4 separate regions of the Homo sapiens genome follow, and all the other regions are linked to region 1. The links are contacts of gene promoters, found by promoter capture Hi-C in human tissues and cell types (Jung and others, 2019). All regions are on one chromosome and are shown on one strand. The core of a region is centred on a gene start or on the middle of the fragment in contact, and the rest is flanking DNA. Distances in the headings are between cores, read along the strand shown. Region 1 holds the start of DNAL1 (dynein axonemal light chain 1). Region 2 overlaps ZNF410 (zinc finger protein 410). Region 3 has its middle 6.5 kb from the start of PTGR2. Region 4 has its middle 12 kb from the start of NUMB.

Region 1 (3,181 bases), core at 452-2,951:
CTTACCAGATCACTACATATGAATTTTGGTGTACCACCACTCAGTCCACAGCAAACATTAAACCCTCATAATATCCTTTTAGATATATGTTTATATACGTGTGTGTACTATGTATAACTTTTCCATTTTTTTGCTTTGTTTTTTGTTTTAGAGACAGGGTCTGGCTCTGTTGCCCAGGGTGGAGTGCAATGGCACAATTAGAGCTCACCTAAGCCTCAAACTCCTCAAATGATCCTCCTGCTTCAGTCTCCCCAGTAGCTGGGACTATGGGTGTTGTACCACCATGCCTCGCTAATTTTTATTTTTTACAGAGCCAGGGTCTTGTTACGTTGCCCAGGCTGGTCTTGAACTCCTGGGTTCAAGGGATCCTCTTACTTTGGCCTCCCAAATTTCTGGGATTACAGGCATGAACAAACTGCACCAGGCCACTATGTATAATTTTAAAGGAAAATCGTACCAACTATTTTGTTTGGTAACTTCTATTTTTACTTGAAATATGACTATCTTTGGATGTGAATAGATGCCTTTCAGCAAGTCAATTGTACTTTTTTAGTGTAAGTACATTATTGCATTGGATGTTCAATACTACTAACCAATTTTCTCTCTCTTTTTGTTTGTTTGTTTGTTTGTTTTGAGACGGAGTGTCACTCTTGTTGCCCAGACTGGAGTGCAATGGCGCGATCTCGGCTCACTGCAACCTCCGCCTCCCGGGTTCAAGCAATTCTCGTGCCTCAGGCTCCGGAATTGCTGGGACTACAGGCGCGTGCCACCACACCCGGCTAATTTTTGTATTTTTAGTAGAGACGGGGTTTCACCATGTTGGCCAGGCTGGGCTCAAGTGGTCAAGTGGTCCGCCCTCCTCAGCCTCCTAAAGTGCTAGGATTACAGGCGTGAGCCACCAGTCCCGGCCACCAATTCTCTTTTGTTGATAATTGAGTTGATTTTTTTTTTTCTATTAAAGCTTTGAACATACATCTCTGTGCTCAGGATAAAGTCCTGGAAGTGGAACTGCTGGATCACAAAGGGTGCAAAAGTTTTTGAACAGCCAACAGCCTTCCAGAAAGGCTGTATCAATTATAAACAGCAGCGTATTTGTGTGTCCCTACTTCACCATACCCCTAGCAACTCTATGAATTATTATTATTGTTAATAATTTTTAGCTCATTTGGTAGGTGGGGAAAAAAAGACACCCTGGTGATTAAAACCAACAATTTGTGATATTTAAAATGTGGAACCGAGCTTTCAGCTGCCTCTGGCTCCCTGGAGGATCCGGGGTAAAGAAACATAAAATGGGTGGAGTTTGGCTCTGGTATTCTCAGTGGGATGGGATGGAGAGGGAAATTACAGCAAGCCGCTTATTCTCCCCTCGTCCGGAAAAGGGTGGGAAACGCCATCGTTAGGGCAAAGGAATTAAGAACATTATTTTATGAAAAGGGTAGTTGTTAGGGGGACGTTTTAAGGTTTTTAACTTTAGGCGGACAAGTCACTACAGATCAGCTGAAATTGCTTTCGGTCCTGACTACTCCTGTGCGGGGTTAAGACCTAAGGAAGCAAAAGGGCAGCCAGCAACAGCCGGACGGGAGGACCCCGGCGGCCGCCACGCAGTCCCACAATGCCCCGCTCGCACCACCCTGAGGGCGGAGAGAAAGGACCGCTGCCGGGGATAGGGCTTCCGCCGAGAGCGCCGAGAAGTGCGCACGCGCACTGACCCCGCGGGCCCTAGCAACCAGAGCAGTGACAGTAGCAACCGCCGGAATGGTGAGTACCTTTCGGGCCGCGTAGCCAAAGCTGAGAGAAGATTGGGAGTGGAAAAGGGTGACTGTGGAGTGTTGAGGGTCTGGGGGTCCTTGAACAGCGGAAGGGAGCCGGTAGCTGACGCTAGCTCTGTGGAGTCAGGGGCCCGAGGCGAAAGAGAAGCCCTGGCCGGGGGTGGTCTGTGGTGAGGGCGGCCTGGGGTGGATCGGAGGTTGGGTTAAGGTGGAGGGACTCAGACAGGAGAAAAGGGAGGGCGAAGAGCAGGAAATTCTCTAAAAAGAGCGTATTGGAGTGGGAAGGGTGATGGGAAGGAGAGTGTAGATAAAGATATCTCTTTACATAGAAGTAATTTTAGTGACCCCCCCGTCGAGATGCAGGGAGGGGCTGGTTACCAGAGGGTTCTGTATAACACGGATTGCAGCAGTTTTCGTAACCTGTGATGTACCCAGGTTGCCTTCTGAATGACTACGAGGGCAGTTATTAGGTGACACTGTAAAGCACACTCTGATGGATATATTAGAGCAGTGATTCTCAAATTTCAGTATGCATAGGTATGGGCTTGTTGGAATGCAGATTGTGAATTTTTAATATGATTGGGGGTTTCAGGAATGTGCATTTCGACAACACACCTCAAGTGATTATAAAATTGGAGGGCATCCCACCACACTGAGAAATGCTGTTGCCTTAGGTTTGAAATCTACCAGCTGTCTATCCAATGAGAGCTCTTTATGAAGTAATGGTTTTACCTAGAGATGCTCCTCAACTCTTACTTGATGTGTTCACTCTCTTGCTTACATACTTGGTAGTTCTAACTAGTCGTTTGAAAAGGATTGCAGACCCAGCCAGAGCTATTGAGCAAAGTATGTGATGTCCTACTGGATAGAGATGTTTATGAAGAAGAAGCATAATTACTTGTCTTCTTTTTGTGATTCCAGTGCTATATAAGTGGGCAGAAATTGAGCCCAGGAGATGGAAATGATGAGGAAGTCATGCCTGCCCTCAACAAGATGAAATACCACTCTTTAAAAAGTAGTTTCCCCCCTGCTTTCCTTACTTTGTTCCCCAAGCAGTTAGCTGAAAATCACTGCCAAGGAAAGTTAAAAGTTCTGGAACCTAGGTTTATATTCAGGTGAAGAAAGGCTCAGACCTAAATATTTATGAAAGTATGAACCATGGTGATTGTTGAAAATCTTCAAATAGAGAATCAGAACCAGTACAGTTATAAGTCACTTAATGATGACAGGGATACATTCTAACAAACACATTATTGGCAGTTTTGCCTTGCAAACATCATAGAATATGCTTACAAAAACCAGATGGTGTAGGCTATTGCTCCTAGGCTACAAAGTTTTACAGCATTTTACTATACTGAATACTGTAGGCAGTTGAAACAAGGTATTTGTGTATTTAAACATAGAAAAGCGGC
Region 2 (3,181 bases), core at 298-2,797, 260 kb after region 1:
TTATGTTTTGCTGAAACTAAATTGCTGCTCATGGCAGTTTAACAATTAGCTATGATGGTTTTAATGCTTTTTCTTTTCAGTTCAGCATGCCTATACTACTTACTCTGTGTCACTTTTCTCTGTTCTAGTAATTTTCAAAGCATTGTCACTGGATCATTGACGTCACGTGGGAACTGAGAAATATAAACTCTCAGGCCCATGCCAGACCTACTGAGTCAAAAACTTGGTTCTGATACATGTTAAAGCTTGAGAACCACGGCTCTATTCAGACCACTGCAGAATCTTTGCTTATGTAGCATGTCATGGATACTTTTTTAGGTCTGCCTCTGTGTTTTCTCATTAACATGTGACACAACTCAATACAACATGGTTTAATGCTATCATTATCACAAACTAAGCTTAAGCACTTAGTACACAGTTGTTTGGAGTTTATGCAGATTATCTAGTATATGCTTATTATTATTTTTTGATTACCATTCAAATGAAAATAAAAAGTTAAAATTTCTCATAGAGAACTAGAGTTCCCTATGAATATTTTGAAACATTAAATCTTTTTTTTTTTTGGTCTTTTTTTTTCCCTTTTTATGGAGAATGAGGTTTTGCTCTGTTGCCAGACAGGTCTCAAACTCCTGGACTCAGGGTCTCCTCCTGCCTCTGGCTCCCTAAGTGCTGGGATTTTAGGTGTGAGCAACCATCCCCAGCCAAACTCTAAACTGTTTGTTTTCAAAATACTTAGTTCTGTTTATGACTACCATAGTGCTACTTAGAATGGTTCATTTTAACATTTTGGTGGGACCCTTAAAGTTCAGATTCTTCCTGAGATATATGTGCCAATCTCCAGATGCTGAAACCTTCAGCATTTCCTCTTACATTGAAGAAATAGTGTCATATTTGCCAATGAGAAGCAGCGTAGGGAGGGGAGCTTGCAATTTAGAATCTGGGAGCCCTGGGATCCAGGCCTGGCACCATCATTTACTGGTTCCCTGCCTTGGGCAGTTTAACCTCCCTTAGCTTCAATTTTCTTACGATCTGAACATAGAGATCAGGCAGCTTTCCTGACTGGCTTGTTATGGAGATTATGTAACATTCTATCTGGGAAATGTTATAATCAGCAAAGCATTGTGTGGATGTTTTTCTTACTCTCAAAGTATGTTGCCTTACTATCTTAACAACTACTTTGTATGCCTGAATATAAAATCACCCCAAATAGGCTGGGCATTGTGGCTCATGCCTGTAATCCCTGCACTTTGGGAGGCCGAGGCAGGCAGATCATCTGAGGTCAGGAATTCGAGACCAGCCTGACCAACGTGGAGAAATCCCGTCTCTACTAAAAATACAAAATTAGCTGGGCGTGGTGGCGCATGCATGTAATCCCAGCTACTCAGGAAGGCTGAGACAGAACTGCTTGAACCCGGGAGGTGGAGGTTGCAGTGAGTGGAGATCGCACCACTGCACTCCAGCCTGGGCAACAAGAGCGAAACTTGGTCTCCCAAAAAAAAAAAAAATCACCCCAAATATAAGACAATCTTTTATTTTCCAACAAGATAATACCCTAAAAGCCTTTTATTTTTTTCTAACTTAGTTATGTAAACTTTTAAGCATGTAGATAAAATTAACATTATAGGTTGCTATTTGGAAGCTTTATGATTTTGGTTATACATACACATTTTAATTTTTTTTTTTTTTTTGAGACCGAGTCTCAGTCTGTCGCCCAGGCTGGAGTGCAGCGGCGCAATCTCGGCTCACTGCAAACTCTGCCTCCTGGGCTCAAGTGATTCTCTGCCTCAGCCTCCCGAGTAGCTGGGACTACATGTGCATGCCACCATGCCCAGCTAATTTTTGTATTTCTAGTAGACACAGGGTTTCACCGTGTTGGCCATGGCTGGTCTCAAACTCCTGACCCAAGGTGATCTGCCTGCCTCTGCCTCCCGCAGTGCTGGGATTACATGCGTGAGCCACCGTGCGTGGTCCCACATATACATTTTAAATCATATGAAATATATCAATATTGCTTTCACCCACTAACACAAGCTTGTCCAACATACGGCCTGTGGGCACGTGTGGCCCAGGATACCTTTGAATGCAGCCCAACACAAATTCGTAAACTTTCTTAAAACATTATGAGATTTTTTTGTTTGTTTGCTTTTAAAGCTCACCAGCTGTCATTAGTATTAGTATATTTTATGTGTGGTCCAAGACATTTCTTCTTTCAGTGTGGCTCAGGGAAGCCAAAAGATTGGACACCCTTGCACTAACATGTAATGAAGTGATTTTATTCAATATTTTAATGCATTTTTAACATAAATATTTTTGTCATTGTTGACACTGAAGTCACTTTATGAGTCCTCTAGCATAGTTTTTCAGAGCATGTTATCTTCACTTACAGTCTAAGTTGTTTGAAATACAGAAACGTTTTAATTTTGCATAAGATGTTGTATATCAGATCAGCAAAGGCCTTTGGGCCAAATCCCCACCTGTTTTTATAATTAAAGTTTTATGGGAACATAGGCATCCACATTACTTACAAATTGTCTAAGGCTGCTACTATGGCAAAGCTGAGTAGTTGTAACAGAAACCATACGGCAGCCGGGCGCAGTGGTTCACACCTATAATCCCAGCACTTTGGGAGGCCAAGGTGGGCAGATCACTGGAGGTCAGGAGTTCAAGACCAGCCTGGCCAACATGATAGAACTCAAATACACTCTTTTCTGAGGGATTTTTTTTTTTTTTTAGGGAAAAATTTGCGTTATATTTATTTGACCATATATTGATAATCTTCATTCTTGAGCAGGAGGAGTTTCAGTGATTTCTTAGCCTTGCCTTATTCTATGTATTCATTTTTCCTATTTTATGATTATATTAATATTCTTATTGTATCTATAAAACGGAATCCAGAAAGCCCCTACTATCACTGATTTGAATCACTGTATTAGCATGATTTTTTTGGCCGGTGCAGTGGCTCATGCCTGTAATCCCAGCACTTTGGGTGGCCGAGGCGGGTGGATCTGTTGAGCTCAGGAGACCAGCCTGGGCAACATGGCAAAACCCCATCTCTACAAAAAAAAAATAGAAAAAATTAGCCAGGTGTGGTAGTGCACACCTGTCTCTAGTCCCAGCTACTTGGGAGGCTGAGGTGGGAGGATCTCCTGAGTTGGGGAGGTCGAGGCTGCAGTGAACCGAG
Region 3 (3,181 bases), core at 363-2,862, 200 kb after region 1:
TTGACCTCCTGGGCTCAAGCGAGTCTCCTACATCAGCCTCCCAAGTAGCTGGGACTACAGGTACACACCACCACGCCTGGCTAATTTTGTTCATTTTTTGTATAGACAAGGTCTCACTATGTTGCCCAGGCTGGTCTCAAACTCCTGAGCTCAAATGAAACTCCCACCTCGGCCTCCCAAAGTGCTAGGATTACAGGTGTGAGCCACTGCACCCAGCGTATCTAATGCTTTTCAAACGGTGACCACAGAGCTTGAAAGTCTTACTGAGATAAACTCCGTCTCTACTAAAAATATAAACATTAGCTGGGCGTGGTGGCATATGCCTGTAATCCCAGCTACTCAGGAGGCTGAGGCAGGAGAATCACTTGAGCCTAGGAGACGGAGGTTGCAGTGAGCCAAGATCACGCCACTGCACTCCAGCCTGGGTGACAGAGCGAGACTCCATCTCAAAAAAAAAAAAAAAAAAAGTTTATGAGCCAATATTGACACATTATTGTTAACTGAAGTCCAAAAGTTACATAATTACATTAAGATTTACTTTAGTTATTTACTTATTTTTAGAGAGACAGAGTCTCCCTCTGTTGCCCAGGCTGGAGTGCAGTGGTACAATTATAGCTCACTCACTGCAGTCTCCACCTCCTGGACTCAAGTGATCTTCCTGTCTCAGCCTCCCCAGTAGCTGGGACTACAATCACGTGCCACCACATCTGGCCAATTTTTAACATTTTTTGTAGAGAGAGGAATCTTATGTTGCCCAGGCTGGTCTTGAACTCCTCACCTCAAGTGATCCTCCCACCTTGACCTCCCAAAGTGCTAGGATTATAGGCGTGAGACACCGCACTGGACTGGGACCATTAAAAAAAATTTTTTTTTGAGATGGAGTCTTACTCTGTCACCCAGGCTGGAGTGGCAGTGGCCTGATCTTGGGTCACTGCAACCTCTGCCTCCTGGGCTCAAGTGATTCTCCTAGCTCAGCCTCCCCAGTAGCTATGACTGCAGGTGTGCACCACCACGCCCAGCTAATTTTCGTATTTTTCTGTAGTAGAGAGGGGGTTTTACCATGTTGGCCAGGCTGGTCTGGAACTCCTTACCTCAAGTGATCCACCTGCCTCAGCCTCCCAAAGTGCTGGGATTACAGGTGTGAGCCACCGCACCCAGCCCCTGGGACCATTTTTTTTTTTTTTTTTGAGATGGAATCTTGCTCTGTCGCCAAGGCTGGAGTGCAGTGGCACGATCTCGGCGCACTGCAAGCTCCGCCTCTCCTGGGACCATTTTTTAATTCGGTTGATTGTCTTCATATATCCTTGTTTTTTTGTTTTCTTATTCAGACATTCAGCAGCCATATCTCATAATTATCTTCATACTATTGAGTTATGAGTTCTTTATGTGTTTTCAATATAAGCCTTTTATCAGATGTATGATTTGCAAATATTTTCTTCCAGTCTGTGGCTTATCTTTTCATTTTCATTTTTTTTTTTTGGTTTTGAGAGAGAGTCACAGTCTGTTGCCCGGGCTGGAGGGTAGTGGTATGATCAAGGCTCACTGCAGCCTCAACCTCCCAGGCTCAAGTGATCCTTCCACCATAGCCTGCTGAGTAAGTTGGGACTACAGGCCTGTACCACCACACCCAGCTATTAATAATTATTTCTTGAATTTCAGTAGAGACAAGGTCTCCCTATGTTGCCCAGGCTGGTACAGAAATCCTAAACTCAAGCAATCTGCCCGCCTTGACCTCCCAGTGTTGGGATTACAGGTGTGAGCCACCACCCATGGCCCTTTCATTTTCTTAAGGTACTTTATATTTTAAATTTTGATAAATTCTAATTTATCACATTTTCTTCTATGGTTTCTGCTTTTGGTGTCTTTTTTTGAGTTTTATATTTTTACCTCTTAGGTTTTGGTTTATAATCCATTTTGAATTAATTTTTGTATTTGGTGTGAGCAAAGATTCAAGTTTCTTTTTGTTGTTTTTGTTTTCCAGGGCTTTGCTTTTGTTTTTTGGTGTATGGATATCCAATTGCGCCGGCATCATTTATTGAGATTATCATTTTGCTACTGAGTTGTCTTGACCCCTTTGTAAAAAATCAATTAACTATAATGTAGGAAGGGTTTATTTCAAGACTCTTCTCTTCCATTGATCTATTTATCCTTGCATCAACAGCACAATGCCTTGATTACTACAGTTTTTTAAATACAATATTTATACGATTTAAGAATACATCCTATGCCAGGCGCGGTGGCTCATGCATAATCCCAGCACTTTGGGAGGCCAAGGTGGGCAGGTAACTTGAGACCAGGAGTTTGAGACCAGCCTGGCCAACATGGCGAAACCCTGTCTCCACTAAAAATAAGAAAATTAGCCAGGCATGGTAGCATGTGCCTGTAATTCCAGCTACTTGGGAGGCCGAGGCATGAGAATAGCTTGAGTGAGCTGAGACTGTGCCACTGCACTCCAGCCTGGGCAACAGAACAAGACTGTCTCAAAAAAAAAAAAAAAAAAAAAAAGAAAGAAAAGAAAGCAAGCTTGGAAGTGGATTCTTCCCCAGCTGAGTCTTCTTATGAGACCACAGCCCAGCCCAGACTGGCAGCTTGATTACAGAGACCTTGAGCCAGAATCACCCAGCTAAACTGTGCATGGCTTCCTGATCCTTCAAAACTCTGAGATAATACAATAAAAGTTCATAGTTTTTGTTTGTTTGTTTGTTTGTTTTTTGAGATGGAGTCTAGCTCTGTCACCCAGGCTGGAGTGCAGTGGCACAATCTTGGCTCACTGCAACCTCTGACTCCTGGGTTCAAGTGATTCTCCTTCCTCAGCCTCCTGAGTAGCTGGGATTACAGGCGCCCGGCACCACACCCAGCTAATTTTTGTATTTTTAGTAGAGACGGGGTTTCACTGTGTTGGCCAGGCTGGTCTCGAACTCCTGACCTCGTGATCCACCCACTTTGGCCCCCAGAAAGTGCTGGGATTACAAGCGTGAGCCACGGAAAAGTTCATTGTTTTAAACCACTAAGTTTTGGGGGTAATTTGTTTGTAGCAATAGATAACGATACAACAGCCAATCTTCAAAAGTTTTTCTTTCAAGGTTATTTTCACTTGGCATGCAAGAATTTCTAAACCTCTAAGAGTTTTCAAGCTCTCTTTTCTGAAATTGTACTTCAAAGGACAGATACATTAATGGGG
Region 4 (3,181 bases), core at 209-2,708, 170 kb before region 1:
TGTGCTTAAACCAGATCTTTTTTCTTTCTATTTGGCAGGTACATAGGCACATGACCCTAGTATTTTCCTTCTCTATTTATTCCCTTCTATACTTTACCACAAATACTTCCACTTGACTCCCTCTTCTGGTCTCTGTTCTATGAACCATCTAGATTATCATTCCAAATGAATACATTTGTGTTTGAGCCCTTAAATGCAAGAATATTTCCCTTCCTGGTCTCTCCAAAGCTAACAGGCTAACTAGACTCAGAACAGGACTTTAATCTAAGCTGGCAATAAGTGCTTACCTGTCCTGAATGACCTAAGCTGCAATCATCCTGGGTCACAATCATCAGAGGAACAGATATTATTTTTCTCCTATTGCACGAAGTGGACAAAGGTTGTCTAGATGGTGCAGAATGGATCTCGATAAAGCCAGAGCTCCTTGTGAAATAAGAAAAATCTCAAGAATGGGCATGTGACTGCTAAGCAAGCTCTGTGGGAGAGCTCAACCTATAATATTACAAGTGGCATGCGTAAGATCAACATGAACTCATCTCTCAAATCCCCAAATCTTAGGTTTCAATGTCTCTTACAAAGTTCCAGGAGAGTTAAGCTTAGGACCAATATAAAGGAAGACTACTCCAAACTGTAGGTAGTAAATGCATGGCACTCATTACCCAGGGAGGGAATACAATCAGAATACAGAAAAAAAATCAGGGCAACATTTATGAATTGCAGAGCCATATATGAGTAAAACTGGATGGATCTTGAACTACTCATTTTCAACCCTAGTCCTATGTGAAAGTCTCATGTCTCTCTCCTAGGTCCTAGTATTCCAACTCAGTAGGTTGGAGTGGGGTCTGTATATAGTTGCAAAGCTCCCCCAGGTGATTCTGATTTATAACCAGGTTTGAGGACCACTACTTGAATAACTTGAATAACCTTTAACCTGCTGGATAGGTCTGACCCAGCCTGGTCATCCTTACGGTCCTAATTGTCAAACTGCTTGGTTGATGAATGACAACTCAAACAGATACAGCTGTATACCTGCAACATAAGAACAAACTCCAGAGCAGTCATTAGACCCTGAATCTACAGATCAAATCAAGCAGTATAATAATGCTCTGGTCCCTGGCTCATTTAGAGTCTTCTCCAAGATCTCTAAGTCTTTCCCACCTTAGGGATGAATCAGCGGAGGCACTTAAAACAAGGTACTACTTTTGGAAGGAAATATTCAGATTTGCTTATAAGAATAAGATGCAGACTTCTTTTTTCTTTTCTTCTCTTTTTTTTTTTTTTTTGAGATGGAATCTCTCTTTGTTCCCCAGGCTGGAGTGCAATGGCATGATCTCGGCTCACTGCAGTCTCCACCTCCTGGGTTCAAGCGATTTTCCTGCCTCAGCCTCCTGAGTAGCTGAGATTACAGGCAGGCACCACCACGCCCAGCTAATTTTTGTACTTTTAGCAGAAATGGGGTTTCCCCATATTGACCAGGCTGGTCTCGAACTCCTGACCTCAAGTGATCCACCCACCTCAGGCTCCCATATTGCTGGGATTATAGGCATGAGCCGCCGCGCCTAGGCAGATGCAGGCTTCTTTACATATTTCTGTCACGGCTCTTTTTGCACAATGTTTAACACAGTACTAGGAATTCGTTTATTCAGTAAACATTTATTGATTAAAAATTAGTTACATACCCAATGCCAATAGTTTGTTGCTGAGGATATAAATAATTAAATAAGGCAGTGATAAAACAGACCAGATGTGATCTCTAGCTTCTTAGTTACCTAATAAGCTCTCAAAAATATTCTTTTATCATAGTGGCTGGATACAGTGTAAAACTCTACCTAAGGGTCATCCTACCCTCTTAGGAACACAACATTTAAGTTCTTTCGAAGACCGAGCTACCCTGGGGCCAAGAACAACTATAAAAAAAGTGCCTACCTTTTCTTCTCAAATGTACCTACAAGTGAAGGTTAAAAATGAACTTCTGGCTGGGCACGTTGGCTCACGCCAGTAATCCCAGCACTTTGGGAGGCCAAGGCAGGCAGATCCTGAGGTCAGGAGTTCAAGACCGGCCTGAGCAACATGGAGGAAACCCCCGTCTCTACTAAAAATACAAAATTAGCCGGGCGTGCTGGTGCATGCCTGTAATCCTAGCTACTCAGGAGGCTGAGGCAGGAGAATCGCTTGAACCCAGGAGGCAGAGGTTGCAGTGAGCCAAGATTGCGCCATTGCACTCCAGCCTGGGCAACAAGATCGAAACTCTGTCTCAAGAAAAAAAAAAAAAGAACATCTGGAGAATGAGAACTATGCTATATTCATCTTTGAATTTCCAGTACCAGGTACAGTACCTTGCACATAGTAAGTGTTCAGTGTTTTAAATTTTTTTTTTTTTTTTTTGGAGACAGAGTCCCACTCTGTCACAGGCTGGAGTGCAGTGGCGCGATCTCAGCTCACTGCAACTTCTGCCTCCCAGGTTCAAGCAATTCTCTTGCCTCAGCCTCCCGAGTAGCTGGGGCTACAGGCATCTGCCACCACACCCGGCTAATTTTTTGTATTTTAGTAGAGATGGGGTTTCACCATGTTGCCCAGGCTGGTCTCAAACTTCTGATCTCAGGCAATCCACCTGCCTCGGCCTCCCAAAGTGCTAGGATTACAGGCGTGAGCCACCGCGCCTGGCCCAGTGTTTTTAAATTTTAATTAATTAATTAATTTTGAGACAGGGTCTGGCTCTGTCACCCACGCTGGAGTGCAGTGGCCCCATCTCGGCTCACTGTAACCTCTGCCTCCTGAGCTCAAGTGATCCTCCCACCTCAGCCTCTGAGTAGCTGGGACTGCAGGCATGTGCCATCATGCCTGGCTAATTTTTGTATTTTTTTTTTTTTTTGGTAGAGATGGAGTCTCACTATGTTGCCTAGGCTGGTCTTGATCCTCCCACCTCGGCCTCCCAAAGTGAAGTAATTGCAGGCATGAGCCACCGCACCCAGCCTGTTCAGTGTTTTTGAATGAGTGAATGAATGAATGAAGCTGGAATCCCAGTTCTGCCACTAACTGTGTATCTTTGTACAAGTCACAGATTATTTGTAACCCTTTTTTCATGACTGGGATAACAACTACCTTGCTTATTTGTTGTTATGTGACTGGAGGTCATGTGTTCTAAGAATCACTGGCAGCTGGGCATGGTGGCCTGTAATCC

The links. Contacts are between HindIII fragments. The study calls those that stand out against the background at their distance.
Region 2: a fragment that was not itself captured here is called in contact with the fragment with the promoter of DNAL1 in region 1 in 7 of the 25 tissues and cell types used here (H1 embryonic stem cells, dorsolateral prefrontal cortex, hippocampus and 4 more).
Region 3: a contact is called between a fragment that was not itself captured here and the fragment with the promoter of DNAL1 in region 1, in 1 of the 25 tissues and cell types used here (mesenchymal stem cells).
Region 4: a contact is called between a fragment that was not itself captured here and the fragment with the promoter of DNAL1 in region 1, in 2 of the 25 tissues and cell types used here (hippocampus and psoas muscle).

Annotation. Positions count from the first base shown.
Region 1 is chr14:73,643,285-73,646,465 of GRCh38, forward strand. DNAL1 (dynein axonemal light chain 1) reads left to right here and starts at 1,702. Exons shown (of 8, transcript NM_031427.4): 1 at 1,702-1,758. The coding sequence starts at 1,756. The HindIII fragment of the contact is 10,054 bases long and covers 455-3,181 here.
Region 2 is chr14:73,898,705-73,901,885 of GRCh38, forward strand. The region is part of intron 5 of ZNF410 (zinc finger protein 410); the gene reads left to right. Among named protein-coding and RNA genes, the nearest start is that of ZNF410, 13 kb to the left of the region's middle. The HindIII fragment of the contact is 5,178 bases long and covers 1-3,181 here.
Region 3 is chr14:73,843,735-73,846,915 of GRCh38, forward strand. No RefSeq gene overlaps it. Among named protein-coding and RNA genes, the nearest start is that of PTGR2, 6.5 kb to the right of the region's middle. The HindIII fragment of the contact is 3,095 bases long and covers 66-3,160 here.
Region 4 is chr14:73,468,710-73,471,890 of GRCh38, forward strand. No RefSeq gene overlaps it. Among named protein-coding and RNA genes, the nearest start is that of NUMB, 12 kb to the left of the region's middle. The HindIII fragment of the contact is 4,687 bases long and covers 1-3,181 here.